Linked DNA regions of Homo sapiens: region 2 is linked to region 1. The links are contacts of gene promoters, found by promoter capture Hi-C in human tissues and cell types (Jung and others, 2019). All regions are on one chromosome and are shown on one strand. The core of a region is centred on a gene start or on the middle of the fragment in contact, and the rest is flanking DNA. Distances in the headings are between cores, read along the strand shown.

Region 1 (3,533 bases), core at 304-2,803:
ATTAATTAAAAAAAAAAACAGTAACTACAATAGCAACAGCTACTATTTACTGAACACTTACTCCACCTCACTTAATCACAACTCTTTGAAGTAGGTACTATTATTTCCATTTTTACAGATGGGCAAATTAAGGCTCAGAGGCGTTAAGCAACTTGCCCATACAGACAGTAAGTGTTGCTGGTGATTCAAACCCAGGTCCGTCTGGCTTTTGGAACTCATGTCCTCACATTCACTGGTCTGCAGAGTAGCACCAAGTACCTTTTACCACCCTGACCAGCTCCTGGGTACTGCCCTCCTGCCTGCAGGCCTGAACACCATGACATCCAGCTAGCCCCTGTCCCCTATGACATCCTTCTCCCTCTTGCCAATGAAACCCAGTAGATCAGGCTGCCTGACAAAAAAATTTCTTGTGATGCCTTGGACTGTGGCATTCATCCTAAATGCCTCCCTAACAGCATGGCCCATTGCTCCTCTAAGAGTCTGGCTCACACTCTTACTGAGTTTTTGCTTATGCCCTTTGCCCTTCTTGGATGCCCTTCCCTAACCCTTCAAGGGCCACTCAGTTGAAGTTCCAGAAGACTACAAATTCCTCAATCCAGTCATCTCACACAATTCTGGGTTTCAGAGCCAGAAGTGCCCCCACCACAGAAATCTCTGGCTCAATGCCAAGTCAGGAAGCTGCAAAGAGCAAGGAGGGCCTGTGTTCCAGTCCTCAAAGGATGGGGAAGGGGAATGACAGCCAGGCAGCTGTTCCTTTCAGATCCCGAACCGTCAGATTTTTCCTCCAAATCTTGCTTGGGACAAGGGGTTAAATGATGTTGACAGAAGGGTGATTGAAGAAAGAGACAGGACTGGTTGAGAGATTGCCCAACACTTTGGGAGGCTGAGGTGGAAAGATGGCTTGAGCCCAGGGGTTTAAAACCAGCTTGGGCAATATAGCAAGACCCCATTTCTAAAAAAAAAAATTATTTTTAATTAGCTGGGTGTGGTGGCGTCCGCCTGTGGTCCCAGCTATTTGTGCACTGAGGCAAGGAAAATCGCCTGAACCCAGGAGGTGGAGGCTGCAGTGAGCTGTGATTGTGCCACTCCAGCCTGGGTGACAGAGTGAGACCCTGTCTCAAAACATATAAACGTGTGTGTGTGTGTGTGTGTGTGTGTGTGTGTATTCCAGGGAACATTAAGACTTAGAGGCAAACTCCAGAACTTAAAGAAAAAACATGAAAGTGCTAAAAAATTCCGTGCTTGTGGAGAGAGAATTCCAACTCTTTCCCTGAACCCGGGCTGAGTCCCTTCGCTGTGAGGTTGGGGGGATGAGTGGGAGCCCAGTGCCTGGCGCCGAGTGAAGGCAGCCATTGTGAGTTCCTGGGCTGGGGAAGGGAGGCTCAGTGCCCAAGGATGTGACCAGGCGTGAGGCCCGGGGAAAGAGCAGCGCGGCGACCCCGCAGTATCCGAGGCGACAGGGTGTGGGGGAGGGGGTGGGGAGTCAAAGGCGGAGTCACGGGCTCCGCCCTCTTTCTCCTGCTTGGCGCGAGCACAGGCACCGCGTGGTTCTCACAACCAGCAGCTCGGCTCACTGAGACCCGGTGGTCCAGACGCTGCTCCTGGCTGGGGTGGCGCTGCAGGGAGAACCGCGAGCTCTCAGGGGTCGGCGGGTGACTTCTTTCCGGAAGAAAGCGAGGAACGCGCTCTGCGGGGTGAGCCGGACTCCCCAACTCCGGACGATCAGCCCAGGACTGAGAGCCCCGAAGTCCCCAACCACAAGTAAGCGGCCCCAGAAGGACAAGTCTAGGTCGCCGTCCAGAGCGCCATGGCCGCGCCCGCCCTTCGTTTGTGCCACATCGCCTTCCACGTGCCCGCCGGGCAGCCCCTAGCCCGGAACCTGCAGCGCCTCTTCGGCTTCCAGCCCCTGGCTTCGCGGGAGGTGGACGGCTGGCGGCAGCTAGCCCTGCGCAGCGGCGACGCGGTCTTTTTGGTGAACGAGGGCGCAGGGTCTGGAGAGCCGCTGTACGGCCTGGATCCGCGTCACGCCGTGCCCAGCGCCACAAACCTGTGCTTCGACGTGGCGGACGCCGGCGCTGCAACCCGGGAGCTGGCAGCGCTGGGCTGCAGCGTGCCTGTCCCTCCCGTTCGCGTGCGGGACGCGCAGGGTGCCGCCACTTACGCCGTGGTCAGCTCGCCTGCCGGCATCCTCAGCCTGACCTTGCTGGAGCGCGCTGGCTACCGCGGACCCTTCCTACCCGGCTTCAGGCCCGTGTCCTCTGCGCCTGGCCCCGGGTGGGTCAGCCGCGTGGACCACCTGACCTTGGCCTGCACCCCCGGCAGCTCCCCCACACTTTTGCGCTGGTTCCACGACTGCCTGGGCTTTTGCCACTTGCCGCTGAGCCCAGGTGAGGATCCCGAGCTGGGCCTCGAAATGACAGCAGGGTTTGGGCTTGGGGGACTGAGGCTTACAGCCCTGCAGGCCCAGCCGGGCAGCATTGTCCCCACTCTTGTTCTGGCTGAGTCCCTTCCGGGGGCGACGACACGACAGGACCAGGTGGAGCAGTTCCTGGCCCGGCACAAGGGGCCAGGCCTGCAGCACGTGGGGCTGTATACGCCTAACATTGTGGAGGCCACTGAGGGGGTGGCAACTGCTGGAGGCCAGTTCCTGGCTCCCCCTGGGGCATACTACCAGCAGCCAGGAAAGGAGAGGCAGATCCGAGCTGCAGGGCACGAGCCTCATCTGCTTGCTCGACAGGGGATCCTGCTAGATGGTGATAAAGGCAAGTTTCTGCTTCAGGTCTTCACCAAGTCCCTTTTTACTGAGGACACTTTCTTCCTGGAGCTGATTCAGAGGCAGGGGGCCACTGGCTTTGGTCAGGGCAACATCAGAGCTCTGTGGCAGTCCGTACAGGAGCAATCTGCCAGGAGCCAGGAAGCCTAAGGATGCCCAGGGCTGGGTGCAGCCAGCTGTCCTGCAGCTCTGGGGAGACCAGCACAGAACTGAGGAACATCTGCAGGAGGCCCAACTAGTGAAAGGCTTTGCCTCCGGGGGGCAGGTGTGACTTCCATTTCATCAGTGCCTGCCAGAAGCTGTGTCTCTCATTGGGCTCCAAAGAGGTGGGATTTTTTAAAACTAAAACATTTCTTATATACAGTCTATAATAAATATGTAAGATACAAAGAACAATAAAAGAATTACACACTAGGAAATAGAACATAACCAATACTTTCGAGTCCTCCCTGTGTCCCGCTGTGATTCTATTTCCTCCCACCCACTCCTCAAATCCTGTCATTATTAGCCCTTTGCTTTTCTGTATTGTTTCACTCCGTATGTAACATAACCCTAAATAAATTATTTCGTATTTGAGGTAGGAATTTAAAACAGAACAAATCTTCTCCTGTGCTTCCTCTCCCCCTAGGGAGCGACCACTCAGGTGGGGAGGGGCTGGGTGAGAGTTGAGCCCAACTACCTACTCCAGAGTGATGCCACCACTCCAATTAGAGCTGACCTGAGACGTAAACAGAGGGTGTTGTGTGTCAGCCACTGGCAG
Region 2 (3,533 bases), core at 329-2,828, 56 kb before region 1:
CAGGCCCAGGATCCTAGTGCTGTGTGCAGTCTAGGGACTTGGTGCCTATGTCCCAGCCACTCCAGCCATGGCTGAAAGGGGCCAATGTATGGCTTCAGCTGTGGCTTCAGAGGGTGAAATCCCCAAGCCTTGGCAGCTTCCACGTGGTGTTGAGCCTGCGGGTGCATGGAAGTTAAGAACTGAGGTTTGGGAACCTCCACCTAGATTTCAGAAGATGTATGGAAACACTTGGATGCCCAGACAAACATTTGCTGCAGGGGCGGGACCCTCATGGAGAGACTCTGCTAGGGCAGTGCAGAAGGGAAATGTGGGGTTGGAGCCCCCACACAGAGTCCCTACTGGGGGCACTGCCTAGTGGAGCTGTGAGAAGAGGGCCACCATCCTCCAGACCCCAGAATGGTAGATCCACTGGTAGCTTTCACTGTGCATCTGGAAAAACCGCAGACACTCAATGCCAGCCCATGAAAGCAGCTTGGGAGAGAGGCTGTACCCTGCAAAGCCACAGGGGCAGAGCTGCCCAAGACCATGGGAACACACCTCTTGCATCAGTGTGACTTGGATGTGGACATGGAGTCAAAGGAGATCATTTTGGAGCTTTAAGATTTGACTGCCCTGCTGGATTTTGGACTTGCATGGGCCCTGTAACCCCTTTGTTTTGGCCAAGTTCTCCCATTTGGAACAGCTGTATTTACCTAATACCTGTACCCCCATTGTATCTAGGAAGTAACTAGTTTGCTTTTGATTTTACAGGCTCATAGGTGGAAGGACTTGCCTTGTCTCGGATGAGACTTTGGACTGTGAACTTTTAGGTTAATGCTGAAATGAGTTAAGACTTTGGGGGATTGTTGGGAAGGCATGATTGGTTTTGTAACATGAAGACGTGAAATTTGGAGGGGCCAGGGTTGGAATGATAAGGTTTTGCTGTGTCCGCACCCAAATTTCAACTTGAATTGTATCTCCCAGAATTCCCCGTGTTGGGGGAGGGACCCAGGGGAGGTAATTGAATCACAGGGGTTGGCCTTTTCCATGCCATTCTCATGATAGTGAATAAGTCTCACAAGATCTGATGGGTTTAACCGGGGTTTCCACTTTTGCTTCTTCCTCATTTTCTCTTGCTGCCACTGTGTAAAGAAGTGCCTTTCACCTCCCACCATGATTCTGAGGCCTCCCCAGCCATGTGGAACTATAAGTCCGATTAAACCTCTTTTTCCTCTCAGCCTTATGTCTTTATCAGCAGCATAAAAACAGACTAATACATTAAGATTCCTTGTGAAAATTCTCTTTATCCTCTATGAAACTGAAAGGATTCAGAGGGTACTGTTGACAGAGACAAAGACAAAGCAGTTGCAGTGGTTGATTACCCTTAAATATTTGGCTTTTTTAACCCAAAAAGTACAAACTTTTGGTTAAAGCATGTAATAAAATGTAAATCAACTACTGCCTTAAAGATTGGGTAAAAATCTACATTTAAGATTTTTTTTTAAAAAAAAAAAACCTTTCTTGACCAAAATTTCATCATGATTTCATGATCCATAAGCGTTGTGCCTTGTATGCCAACTAATCTTTGGCGGTGGATAGTGGAAGTACATGTATAATTAATCTTTCCTCATATTGAAATCACTCAACCAACACAGTCTTTCTAGGATTAGATATTTGTGCTATCTTGTTTGTGTTTTTACTCCAATTTGTATGGTTGAGAAAGTCCATAAAGTACAGAGAAAATGTAAAAGAAAATTTCAGGCACCTGTTGGAATTATTACTAATGTAATTCCTGATTTATTCCTGCTATGGTTTCAATGTGTCCCCCAAAGTTCATGTGTTATAAAATTAATCTTTAAGGCCAGGCACGGTGGCTCATGCTTGTAATCCCAGCACTTTGGGAGGCCAAGGCGGGAGGATCACCTGAGGTCAGGAGTTTGAAATCGGCCTGACCAATATGATGAAACCCTGTCTCCACTAAAAATTCAAAAATTAGCCAGGAATGGTGGCATACACCTGTAATCCCCGCTAATTGGGAGGCTGAGACAGGAGAATTGCTTGAACCCAGGAGGCAGAGTTTGCAGTGAGCTGAGATCGTGCCACTGCACTCCAGCCTGGGCAACAAGAGTGAAACTCTGTCTCAAAAAAAAAAATTTAAGGCAACAGTCTTGGGAAGTGGGGCCTGATAAGAGGTGATTAGTTTCTGAGAGCTCTGCTGTCGTCAATGGATTAATGTCATTATCACAGGAGTAGGTTAGTTATCATGATAGTGGGTTGCTATAAAAGCGAGTTTGGCCACTTCTTGTTCTCTTGCTCTCACACGCCCTCTCTTGCCTTTCCACTTTTCACCATGAGATGATGCAGCAAAAAGGCCCTCACCAGAGGCAGACCCTCAATGTTGGACTTCACAGCCTCCAGAACTTTAAGAAATAAATTTCTGTTCTTTTAAAATTACCCAGTCTGGGCTGGGCATGGTATCTCACACCTGTAATCCCAGCACTTTGGGAGGCTGAGGCTGGCAGATTGCTTGAACCCAAGAGTTTAAGACCAGCCTGGGCAACATGGCAAAATTCCATCTCTACAAAAAATACAAAAATCAGCCAGGTATGGTGGCATGCACCTGTGGATCCAGCTACTCGGGAGGCTCAGGTGGGAGGATCACTTGAGCCCAGGAGGTTGAGGCTGCAGTGAGCTGTGATCATGCCACTGTATTCCAGCCTGGGCAACAGAGTGAGACTCTGTCTCAAATAAAATAAAATAAAATAAAATAAATAAAATAAAATAAAATAAAATAAAATAAAATAAAATAAAATAACCCAGTCTGTGGTATTCTGGGATAACAACACAAAATGCATGAAGGTAATGCCAACCAAAAGAAAACAAAAAATTGTTCATGAATATGCTGATTTGTTCATTCAGTATTAATTGCAAAATATTTTATGGTTAGTTATCCATTGCTACATAACAAATTATCCCAGAACTTAGAGACTTAAGACAACAACAATCATTTATTATCTCTCACAGGATATAACTTGGTGTGGTGGTTCTGGCTGAGAATCCCTTGTGAGGTTACAGTTCAGATGTCAACCAGAACTGCAGCTATCTGAAAGCTTGACTGGGGCTGGAGAATCCACTTTCAAGGTAGCTTTCTCCCATCACTAGCAAGTGGTTGCTGGCTGTTTGTGGGAGGCCTCAATTCCTCTCCAGGTATCAACTAGAGAGGAATTGAGGCCTCCCACAGAATCTAGCTAATTCTTAGCGAGAGCCACCATACCAAGTTATATCTTATGAGAAAGAATAAATGATTATTGTTGTTTTAAGCCTCTAAGTTCTGGGGAAATTTGTTATGTAGCAATAGATGACTAATAATAAAATAGTTTTGCAATGAATGCTGAATGAATGAATTAGCATATTTATGAACAATTTTTTGTTTGTTTTCTTTTGGTTTGTCATTGTCTTAATCCATTTTGCGTTGCTATGACAGAATACCACAGGGGCGTTCTGGTTTTCCTCAGTGACCTCACAGCATGGTATGGCTTCCCCTGAATGAGTGA

The links. The method cuts DNA at HindIII sites, captures the fragments that hold promoters and counts their contacts. A contact is called where the count stands out against the background at its distance.
Region 2: a contact is called between a fragment that was not itself captured here and the fragment with the promoter of HPDL in region 1, in 1 of the 25 tissues and cell types used here (aorta).

What each region holds. Positions count from the first base shown.
Region 1 is chr1:45,325,342-45,328,874 of GRCh38, forward strand. It overlaps HPDL (4-hydroxyphenylpyruvate dioxygenase like), which reads left to right and starts at 1,554. Exons shown (of 1, transcript NM_032756.4): 1 at 1,554-3,369. The coding sequence starts at 1,808. The coding sequence ends at 2,923. RefSeq lists enhancers at 1,586-1,635, 1,646-1,895, 2,656-2,765. The HindIII fragment of the contact is 17,678 bases long and covers 1-3,533 here.
Region 2 is chr1:45,269,698-45,273,230 of GRCh38, forward strand. No RefSeq gene overlaps it. Among named protein-coding and RNA genes, the nearest start is that of LINC01144, 32 kb to the right of the region's middle. The HindIII fragment of the contact is 5,266 bases long and covers 1-3,533 here.